Linked DNA regions of Homo sapiens: all the other regions are linked to region 4. The links are contacts of gene promoters, found by promoter capture Hi-C in blood cells and fetal thymus (Javierre and others, 2016). All regions are on one chromosome and are shown on one strand. The core of a region is centred on a gene start or on the middle of the fragment in contact, and the rest is flanking DNA. Distances in the headings are between cores, read along the strand shown. Region 1 overlaps LOC124905132 (a long non-coding RNA gene). Region 2 overlaps LINC00229 (long intergenic non-protein coding RNA 229). Region 3 has its middle 5.1 kb from the start of PRR5. Region 4 holds the start of PNPLA3 (patatin like domain 3, 1-acylglycerol-3-phosphate O-acyltransferase).

The links. Contacts are between HindIII fragments. The CHiCAGO score rates a contact against its expected background, and 5 or more counts as called.
Region 1: a contact is called between a fragment that was not itself captured here and the fragment with the promoter of PNPLA3 in region 4, in 3 of 17 cell types (M1 macrophages, M0 macrophages and erythroblasts). The highest score is 8.0, in M1 macrophages.
Region 2: a fragment that was not itself captured here is called in contact with the fragment with the promoter of PNPLA3 in region 4 in 1 of 17 cell types (fetal thymus); the score reaches 5.5 in fetal thymus.
Region 3: a contact is called between a fragment that was not itself captured here and the fragment with the promoter of PNPLA3 in region 4, in 1 of 17 cell types (monocytes). The highest score is 5.2, in monocytes.

What each region holds. Positions count from the first base shown.
Region 1 is chr22:44,665,664-44,668,363 of GRCh38, forward strand. LOC124905132 (a long non-coding RNA gene) reads right to left here. Exons shown (of 3, transcript XR_007068127.1): 1 at 2,668-2,700; 2 at 1,921-2,006. Among named protein-coding and RNA genes, the nearest start is that of PRR5, 35 kb to the right of the region's middle. The HindIII fragment of the contact is 1,445 bases long and covers 618-2,062 here.
Region 2 is chr22:44,604,166-44,606,865 of GRCh38, forward strand. It overlaps LINC00229 (long intergenic non-protein coding RNA 229), which reads right to left. Exons shown (of 5, transcript NR_044991.1): 5 at 2,163-2,480. Among named protein-coding and RNA genes, the nearest start is that of LINC00229, 20 kb to the right of the region's middle. The HindIII fragment of the contact is 4,678 bases long and covers 1-2,700 here.
Region 3 is chr22:44,695,738-44,698,437 of GRCh38, forward strand. It overlaps a transcript of PRR5 not described here. Among named protein-coding and RNA genes, the nearest start is that of PRR5, 5.1 kb to the right of the region's middle. The HindIII fragment of the contact is 4,492 bases long and covers 1-2,700 here.
Region 4 is chr22:43,922,412-43,925,111 of GRCh38, forward strand. PNPLA3 (patatin like domain 3, 1-acylglycerol-3-phosphate O-acyltransferase) reads left to right here and starts at 1,394. Exons shown (of 9, transcript NM_025225.3): 1 at 1,394-1,687. The coding sequence starts at 1,501. RefSeq lists enhancers at 1,209-1,953, 1,954-2,696. The HindIII fragment of the contact is 6,907 bases long and covers 1-2,700 here.

The DNA.
Region 1 (2,700 bases), core at 90-2,589, 740 kb after region 4:
CATAAAGAAATAACCAGCCGGGCGCCGTGGCTCACGCCTGCAATCCCAACATTTTGGGAGGCCGAGGTGGGAGGATCACCTGAGGTCAGGAGTTCAAGACCAGCCTAGCTAACATAGTGAAACCCTGTCTCCACTAAAAATACAAAAAATTAGCCAGATGTGGTGGCGCGCGCCTGTAATCCCAGCTGCTCGGGAGGCTGAGGCAGGAGAATCGCTTGAACCCAGGAGGCAGAGGTTGCAGTGAGCCAAGATTGTGCCACTGCACTCCAGGTTGGGCAACAAGAGTGAAACTCCATCAAAAAAAAAAAAAAAAAGAGAGAGAGGGAGAGAGAGAGAGAGAGAGAGAGAGAGAGAGAGAGAAAGAAATTTAATGAACATTTTTTAAAAAAAAAATCCAATTAGAAAATAGGCAAAAGACATGAACACACCTACCACTCATAGGATTTACAGATGGTAAATAAGCTCTCAAGATCGTTTTGAATCTTTAACATCAATAGTCGTTAGAGGAAGGCAAATTAAAACCATGAGATCTCACTACACACCTATCAGCATGGCAAAAATAAAACACAGGGACAAGACGAAATGCTGGTAGGGATGCAGAGAAACTGGATCACTCAAGCTTTGCTGCTGGGAAGGCAAAGTGGTACACTCTGGAAAACATTTTGGCAGTTTCTTAAAAATCTAAACATGCAACTCCCATACGACCCAGCAATTACACTCCTGGGCACTCTTCCCAGACAAATGAAAACTTATGTTCACACAAAAACCTGTACACAAATGTTTATAGCAGCTTTATTGGTAATAGCCCCAAACTGGCAATCAACCCAGATAGTCTTCGACAAGTGAATGGCTAAACAAATTATGATGCACCCATTCCATGGAATGCTGACCACTCCACAATAGCAAGGAACAAACTACTGAAACACAAAGCAACCTGGAAGAATCTTCAGGGATTTATGCTGAGTGAAAAAAGCAATCTCAAAAGGTAACATACTGTATGACTGCATTTATATAACATGCTTGAAATGATAAAATTACAGAAATGGAGAACAGATAAGTGCTTGCCAGGAGGGAGGAGGGAGGGAGATAAGCACATAAAAAGTCCACGGGGGGGTCCTTTGCTGATGGAATGTTCTGTACCTTGATGGCATCTATGTCAATATCCTGGTTGTGATATTGTAGTATAATTTTGCAAGATTTTACCAGTGGAGAAAACTGGGTCCAAGACATCTCTACTGTTTCTTATAGCTGCATGTGAATCTACAATTATCTCAAAATAAGAAAGTTTAGGCTGGGCGTGCTGCCTCACACCTGTAATCCCAGGATTTTGGGAGGCCCAGGCGGGTGGATCACCTGAGGTCAGGAGTTTGAGACCAGCCTGGCCAACATAGTGAAACCCTGTCTCTACTAAAAATACAAAAATTAGTCGGGCATGGTGGCAGGCACCTGTAGCCCCAGCTACTCAGGAGGCTGAAGCAGGAGAACCACTCGAAATCAGGAGGCAGAGGTTGCAATGAGCCAAGATGGCACCACTGCACTCCAGCCTGGGTAACAGAGCGAGACTCGGTCTCAAGAAAAAAAAAAAAGAAAGAAAGAAGGAAAGTTTAATTAGAAGTGGGGGAGGTCCTAGTGGTCACACACCAAGAGGCTGGATTAGATGACCTCAAAGGTCCCTCCAAGGCCAGGACATCCCTCTTGGCAGCACGGGGCTCAGAACAGCTCCACCTCCTTCTGGCACCTCTTGGGCCGTTTCCAGCCCCACCCCAGTACTCGATCCAGGCACTGTCTGCCCAGTCTAGATGCCACCCAGACACTTTAGGCCCCTCTGTCCAGATGCCCTCTCCTCCCTCTAGGATGCCCCATCCTGCAGTTCAGGCAGAGCTGCTCACTCCCAGGGCCCTATGGACCCCATTAGAGTACCTGGGGTCTGGCCGGGATGCTTGCTGTCCTGAAATCTGGTCACCAGGAAGGCCGGCCATCTGATCTGCCTCATGTCAACACTGTTTCTGGGGGATGAGTGGCTTAGCGTCAAACAAGCACAATGATGGAAGGGGAAAAAAAAAGCTTTACAACTGAATATGGACACAAATATTTGCACAATTGCATTCTAAAACATTAAAACAATCACTACACCAAAACACAATAACCATAACCATCACCGCCCGAATGCCCACAGCCTGGCCTCTGGTACAGGACTTGCGGCTTCTACCAGGCACTGACTGTCAATCCTTTCGGGGATTCCTGGGACAGACACCACTGCTCCCCGCCCACTGCCCCCACCACAGCCACGTACCAACGGAGAGGTACTTAAACAGGGTGAGGCTGTTTAAGTGAAGAGTGAAAAGAAGCCCTTTTCGAGACACTGGGGTGTGGGATGTGGGTTGTGGGGTGCAGGATGTGGGGTGCTGGATGTTTCCACCAGGGCAGTTCTTCTCAAACTTTACTGAACTCTGGAACCACCCAGAAGGCTTGTTAAAATAGGGGGCCCAACCCCGAGTTTTGCTTCTGTAGGTCCGGGGTGGGGCCAGGGACTCTGCACTAACGGAGGCCACACTTTGAGAACCACAGCCCTGGGCTGTTTTTGGTGCCAGGCCCATTCGTCTTCCCCTCCCTCCCCGCTCCGCCCGCGGCTGGACCCCGATCCCCGGGACAGGGACTGAGTCTGACCGTCTGATTTGTCCTCCCGGCTTCTAGCGCCCC
Region 2 (2,700 bases), core at 68-2,567, 680 kb after region 4:
TCAACATAGAGGACCCTGCCCGCGATGGAAAAGACACACAATATACACAGGTGGTGAGGATGAGACCGGGGCGCCCTCCCAAGCCCACGGTCAGGACGGGCGGCCCTCGAGCCGACCAAACCAGAATCTTGGGACCCATGATCAAGCGGTGGGTGTTGCTAATGCTGAAGATAGCAGGATCCTCAAGGCAAACAGACCCACACAGGCAAAAAACAAAAAGGCCCAGATTCCCCGTGTCTGCCACCCAGCAGGGAGCCCGGGGGGTGCACTGAAGCCGCTTCCCCCAGAAATGCAGCAGCCGGGCTCCAGAGGCACGTGTCAGAAACCACACACATACACACACACACGTGGTACATGCCACATATCACACACATACACCACATACATCATACACACACCACACACATCACATACCACACATGTCACACACATACACCACATACACCATACACACACCACACACATCACATGGCACACACCACATATCACATGCACACACCACATACACCATACACACATACACCACGCACACACCACAGGCCACACACCACATATCACACACATACACCACACACACCATACACCACACATTACACACACATGCACCACACACATATACCACACACATACCATATAGCACACATATACCATACACACATCCCATGCCACACACCACAAACCATGTGCCACATATCACATGTCACACACACACACCATGTACCACATACATCGTACACCACACACACCCTGCACACACACACCACATATCACATACACACCACACACACATCACACATCACACACACATCAAACACACACACACCACACACACACACACCATATACCACACAGATACCACACACACACACACATACACACATACACAGCCCTTCTCTTGCTGCATGAGTCCACCCTGGGGAGGAGGGGCATGAGGGCACAGAGAGCCCACAAGATGCACTTCTGAGGCCACACACACAGCCCCATGGTCTGGAGCCTCAGCCTCATGGGCATGTAGCGTGTGTGCGTGTGTGTGTGTGTGGTTTCTGACATGTTTGCCCCTGACTGGAGCCTGGCTGCTGTATTTCTGGGGGAAGTGCCTTCGGTGGCCCCGCATGCTCCCTGCTGGGTGGCAGACAGGGGGAATCTGATCCTTGCCAGAGGATCAGATCCAGCAGTGGACGATACTCAGAGAAGAAGGTTTGCAGACTCAAGGGAGCCCAGACGCAGAAAGGACGGCTTGCCCAATAAAACACACAGCAGGTGTTTAGAGGAAAAAACAAGCCCCAAGATCGCCAAGCATCCTGGGTTCACTGCTTAAGATGGAAGAGGTGCAGCTCTCCTCTGTGAGGATGATATTTGCAAAGGTTGCCAAAGGTCTGCAGACACTCAGCGCCAAAAGGCAGGGCCGTTAGGGGAAGCAGCGGCCTCTGCGAAGACTCCAGGTGTCCTTTACTTGGGGGACTGGAACCAGACAGGCAGCCCTTTGTGCTGTCACTGTGGTTTGGGGATGTTCCATCTCTGCTGCAAGCTGCCACTTTTTCCTCCTTCCTGAGGGTGGGGTGTGATGGCCACACTTACTCAGCTGGAAGGAGGGCAACTTGTCAGTTTTGATTTCGTGAAGACCAAGGAAGAAAAGCTGTGAGATGCTGTTTCTGGGCAAAGGGATATCGCTTTTCATTCAGCAAATACCCGCTCGTCTCCCAGATGCCAGGCAGAGCGGGAGCACCCAGAGAGAGGGCGCCTGGAGGGGAGGCTCTGGACGGGGTGGATTTCCCACCAGTAGACCACAGGCAGTCTGGAATTCTAGATGTCACCTCCTGGACTGCCTGAGTTGGCAGAGCCCTTAGAGGTCATCTCACCCAATTTCGCCATTGTCTATTTGGAAAACTCAAATAGACAATGCCCAGAGGAAGGAAGCAATGTGCCCTTTGTCATCAAGCGAGGTAGTGGCAGGAGCAGGGTGGTGCTCGGGCTTGCCGTTGTCCCGCCCAGCGAGCTGGCCACGGTGGTACTGGGCCTCTCAGAGCAGGGCAGCATCCCCCAGGGGCTGTGAGCAGCACCTCCCCTGCCCGGGAGGGGAAAGAGCTAAATTCTCACTTAGCAGCAGGATGCTTCTGGGCCTCATTACGATGGTGCAAATTAATATTTATCATGCAATTATTCATCTTTGTAATTGCTAGTATTTCAAAGGGAGCGCAGAGGCTTTCATTAGAACACTTGGAACGTTATTCAGATGAAATGTCAAAATGAGCAGCGTCCCTCTCCACACTGGCAGCCCCTGTGTCCAGCTGCCTCCAGAAGGTTCCCAGCACCGGGGTCCACACAGCCGTGTTGCTGCCACTTCCAGGTGCTGGCTTGGGGTTTGGGTCCATTTGTTAGAAATCTTGACTTCTGGAAACCTGGGGGCATCTGAAGCCAGAAACTCGAGATTCAAAGGGCCTGGTGGACGTGGGACTCCATGAACATGAGCAGCAGAGCCTCTGAGGGCAGAGACAGGACAGTGTCATCAGGAGCCCCCACATCCTGCTGCCCCTCTGCACCCACCTGGCCGGCCTCCCTGCCTCGCACCCTCACCCCCTCCGGCCACATGCAGCTTGTGGCTTCCCTCCCTTCCCCTCCCTCCTACCTGGAGGCAGGTCTCCTTACACCCTGCCTCCAAGCCCACCACCAGGTGTGCCCGCCAGGGCTCTACCCTCCTAC
Region 3 (2,700 bases), core at 100-2,599, 770 kb after region 4:
ACAGATGCACACCAACATGCCCAGCTAATTTTTTTGTATTTTTAGTAGAGACAGGGTTTCACCATGTTGACTAGGCTGGTCTCGAACCCCTGACCTCAAGTGATCCACCCATCTCGGTCTCCCAAAGTGCGCCCAGCCTGTCAGGGTTTTTTTAAACACAAGTGATTCCATTTTGATTCTGACAACTTTTTTTTTTTTTTTTTTTTTTTTTGATACAGAGTCCCTCTCTGTCACCCAGGCTGGAGTGCAATGGCACAGTCACTGAAACCTCCACCTCCCAGGTTTAAGTGATTTTCCTGCCTCAGCCTCCTGAGTAGCTGGGATTACAGGCACACACCACCACACTTGGCTAATTTTTGTATTTTTAGTAGAGATGGGGTTTCACCATGTTGGCCAGGCTGGTCTGGAATTCCTGACCTCAGGTGATCCACCCGCCTCAGCCTCCCAAAGTGCTGGCATAACAGGCATGAGCCACCGCGTCCAGCCAATTCTGACAACTTTGACACAAAGGAGGTGGCAGAGCTGAGGGCAGACCCAGTTTGGGAGATTCCAAAACCTGTCTCTGCAATGCCATCCTCGAGCTTGGACAGTCACCTCCTTATACCACAGAGGCACCTATTGAGAGACTAGAATCAGGTTATAAAACACCTGCCCCAGAAGAGACTTTGGAAACCGATTGGTGTTCAAGACCTGGCTGACAGGTGGGAAGGTGGCTTGGAGAGAGAATCTTATGCAGGTGCATGTGTGACGTCTGGTGTATTAAGACCAGGGACCTGCTGGCCAGAGCCCCCTCCCCGGCCCCTAGAACTGAAATCCAGAACAAAAGGAGGGCACGTGTCTTGGGTGCACAGAACCAGACCACCAGGGTGGAGAAGGGCTCAGATGGAGTCCTGGTAGCTCAGCTGGTCAAGAGAAGACTTAAAGGAAGCGGTCCACCTTCAAACCTCAAGGCTGCTGTGGGACCAAGGAAGACATGAACTTACGTATTTATTTATTTATTTATTTATTTATTTATTTGAGATGCAGTCCTGCTCTGTCGCCCAGGCTAGAGTGCAGTGGCACGATCTTGGCTCACTGTAAACTCCGCTTCCAGGGTTCGAGCGATTCTCCTGCCTCAGCCTCCCTAGTAGCTGGGACTACAGGTGTGCACCACCATATCCGGCTAATTTTTGTATTTTTAGTAGAGACAGGGTTTCACCATGTTAGCCAGGGTAGTCTCCAACTCCTGACCTCAGGTGATCCACTGGCCTCAGCCTCCTAAAGTACTGGGATCACAGGCGTGAGCCACCACACCCGGCCAGGACATGAACATATCAGATGGCAGAGCTAGGAAGGGACGATGGGCTCACCTTCTGGTAGCAGGGACCATGTCTTTCTTGTTCCTTGCTGTGTTCCCCACACAGCCTCAGTTTCCCCAGTCGTGAAATGGGAATAATAACAGTTGATCCTGGCTCCAAGGCCACCAGGTCCGGTGGCCTGGTGCTTGGTGCCGGAGTCACCGCGAGTACCCTGGGCTCCCCCAGCGTGGTGGCCCTGACTCAGGAACCTCCTTCTGCCGTGCGACCACCCTGGCGGCGGTCACCAAGCCCTTGGCGTGCCCCTGTGACTGTGTGTGGATTTTTTCTGTGCCCTCACAGGGCAGTGGTGTCACCCTTCTCGCCCATCTCAGGGAAGGGATGGGACGGCCCGGATGGCAGAGACTGTGGGGACAGAGCCAGGCACTCCCCATGGCTTTCCGTGCCCAGCACGTTGCCAGGCCTCTTCCAGGGTGTCCGGGACTGACCAGGCTGCTCCTCAGGGGGCAGAAGGCACTTTTGGGTCGGCTTTGAGGGAACACCAGGCTTCGCCACCAGGGGGCGGACGTGCCCCTCCAGAGCAGGCAGTGCCTAGGAAAGCAGGCAGGGCGTGGGCAACTGAGGTCACCACCTGAGGGCCGTGCCCCGGGGAGAGTGGGCGAGATGGAGGCTGTCTCTCTCTCCCGCCCAGCCCGCAGGGCTCCAGCCTCAGCTCCCCCACTTGCTGACTCTGACCTCGGACATACGCCTCGGCCTCCCTGGGCCTCTGTTTGTCTGTCTGTAAAATGGGACTGGTCTCCCACTTGGCAGCCTTGTGGGGACGAGTCGGGGCAGTGTGTTTAGTGGCCGCCCCTGTATCATGCCTATAGTACCCCTCCCTGGGCCCCAAACTGGCCCCTTCAGGGGTATGCTGTCTCCTCCCTTTGGCTGGCCTGTGTCCCAGAGATCATGATGTCACTTGCAGTGCTGATGGACTAGAACTCAGAGTCCCGGGTTCATGAGCTGCCCTGACTTACTGGTCTGTTCCTGTCCCCTGGGTGTCCAGCCGGGGCTGAGCCAGGCTTAGGGATTGCAGGCCCTTCAGAAGGGTAGTTCTGAGGATATCAGGGTCCCCCTTGGTGACCAAGGGGATCCTCTACCAGCTGCCGACACCCCACTGGCCAGGGGGAGTTTGGAATGAGTTTGGGTCCTGGGGAGGAGAGGACGTGGTTGATGCCATCGGGCCTGGCACCTTCCTGGAGCAGGGGCCACTCTGGTGGCTTTGGGGATGTGTGAATGAGTCTGGAGCAGGGGTGGCTCTGGTGGCTTTGGGGTTGTGTGAATGAGTCTGGAGCAGAGGTGGCTCTGGTGGCTTTGGGGATGTGTGAATGAGTCTGGAGTGGGGGCCACTCTGGTGGCTTTGGGG
Region 4 (2,700 bases), core at 144-2,643:
GCTGTGGGCTTGCTCCACCCAGTGCCAGGGGTAGGTCAAGGTCAAGGGGCCTCTTAGGCATCTCCTAAGGGCATGCTACTATCCAAATGTTTGTGTCCCCACTAAAGGTCATCTGTTGAAATCCTACACCTTAAGGTGATGATCTTTGGAGGCGGGGGCCTTTGGAAGGTGATTTGATGAGAGGGTGGCACCCTTATGAATGGGATTGGTGCCCTTATCAAAGAGGCCCAGAGGTGAGGATGTGGCAAGATGGCACCTTCTACGAGCCATACCTCTCACCAGGGACCAAATCTGCTGGTATCTTGAACTTGGGCTTTCCAGCCTCCAGAACTGTGAGACAGAGAAATAAGCCAGGCGAAGTGGCTCACCCCTGTAATCCCAGCATTTTGGGAGGCTGAGGTGGGTGATGACTTGAGGTCAGGAGTTCTAGACTAGCCTGGCCAACATGGTGAAACCCCATCTCTACTAAAAATACAAAAAATTAGTCAGGCATGGTGGCGCATGCTTGTAATCCCAGCTACTCGTGAGGCTGAGGCAGGAGAATCCCTTGAACCCGGGAGGAAGAGGCTGCAGTGGGCCAAGATCGTGCCATTGCACTCCAGCCTGGGGGGAAAAAGATAGAAATAAATCTCTTGTTTGTAAGCCCCTCCGCTTTAAGGTGTTTTGTTTTCGCACCTGAACGGACTAAGGGACTAAGGGACCAGGAATCATCCAGGCCTCAGCTTCCCAAAGCACTCCCCACTCCCCAGTTCCTACAGGGCCCCGACCCCAGCCCCAGCACCCGTCATTCACATTTTTTACTTACAAAGGAAACTTTGAAATGGACACTTCCTGTTACTTTCATTCAATGAAAAAAATCCCCAGCACTTGAAGGCAATCATACAGAAAGCCTGCAACAACGCAGAGAGTAGACTCTTCAGGTGGTGGTGCCTGCTTTAGGCTGGCTCTCCCCGGGTCAAAAGGGACGTGATAAAGTGTTAAAGTGATGTTAAGGATCAAGTGGGCACCAACTGCGACTCCCCTCCCACCCCCCGACTTAACAGATGTCAAGGAAAACAGAAGGAAGCCGTTTCTCTCCAGGACATGCAGTGTCTGCTGGAGTTTTGGAAAAATGCTTTCTCTCGAGTCGCTGCGGGGAGCTCCCAGGCTGGACCCCCCCGCACAGGTCCTCCGCCATCGCCCTCCCAGCCCCCGCCCCCAATCCCCCTCCCAGACCCGGTCCCCGCCCCCATCCCCCGCCAGACGTCGTCCCCACCCCCATCCCCCTCCAAGCCCCGCCCGGGAGGGCGTCCTGCCCGCTCATTGGGCCTCCCGCCGGCTCATTTGCATGGTCCGAGGGGGGCGGGGCTGACGTCGCGCTGGGAATGCCCTGGCCGAGACACTGAGGCAGGGTAGAGAGCGCTTGCGGGCGCCGGGCGGAGCTGCTGCGGATCAGGACCCGAGCCGATTCCCGATCCCGACCCAGATCCTAACCCGCGCCCCCGCCCCGCCGCCGCCGCCATGTACGACGCAGAGCGCGGCTGGAGCTTGTCCTTCGCGGGCTGCGGCTTCCTGGGCTTCTACCACGTCGGGGCGACCCGCTGCCTGAGCGAGCACGCCCCGCACCTCCTCCGCGACGCGCGCATGTTGTTCGGCGCTTCGGCCGGGGCGTTGCACTGCGTCGGCGTCCTCTCCGGTATCCCGCTGGGTGCGTCTGGGGACGCTGCCCGGGCTCCACGTGCGGAGTGGGTGCCCCCTAGGCCGGGGAGCGGGGGATCCCCAGGGGTCGCGGGGCCCTGGAGGAGCGGGCATCGGACGCGGACACGGCGGGGTGCATCCCGAGGGCCCCCTCCGAGGCAGATGCTTCCTGCGGGGGCGCTGTTCCTGGGCCCGGGAAGGGGGCGTTGGAACCCCGAGCGGTCCGGGCCGAAGCCTGGGACTCTCGTGCGTCCCCACCCCTACCCCCATCAGGCGCCCGTGCATGAAGGGAGACCCTCACCTCCGGACTGAGAGTCGGAGCGTCTCGGAGCGACGGGGAGTAGGGAGCGGGACCCGGGGCGGAGGGTAGTGCTGGCCCCTGCGGACTCCGGGTCCCCTGTGTCCTCTCGGGAGGGGCTGGACGGGCTGAGCTGCCGAGGGGCCGATTTGCCCTGGGCCGGACAAAGAGTGGGGCTTTGGCCGGTCCCCCACGGTGGGCTCCTTCCCTCTGGGGATTGAGGGACTCAAGACACCCCGCGCCTGCGCTTTTCTTTTCTTTTTTTCTTTTTTTTTTTTTGAGACGGAGTTTCGCTCAGTCGCCCAGGCTGGAGTGCAGTGGCGTGATCTCAACTCACTGCAAGCTCCACCTCCCAGGTTCACGCCATTCTCCTGCCTCAGCCTCCCGAGTAGCTGGGACTACAGGCGCCAGCCACCAAGCCCGGCTAATTTTTTGTATTTTTTAGTAGAGACGGGGTTTCACCGTGTTAGCCAGGATGGTCTCGATCTCCTGACCTCGTGATCTGCCCACCTCGGCCTCCCAGAATGCTGGGGTTACAGGCGTGAGCCACTGCTCCCTGCTGCCTACGCTCTCTGGGTCGCAGCCCAGCCTTCTGGGGGCTGGGTAGCCTCCCAGAAGGGCAACCCTGGGCATCCTCCAGGGCAGGCTAACTGGAGTCTAGTGGGGAGGGGTACCTTGAAAGAGGAAAGTTGTTTCCTCCTCCTCCTCCTCCTCCAGTGTTTGGG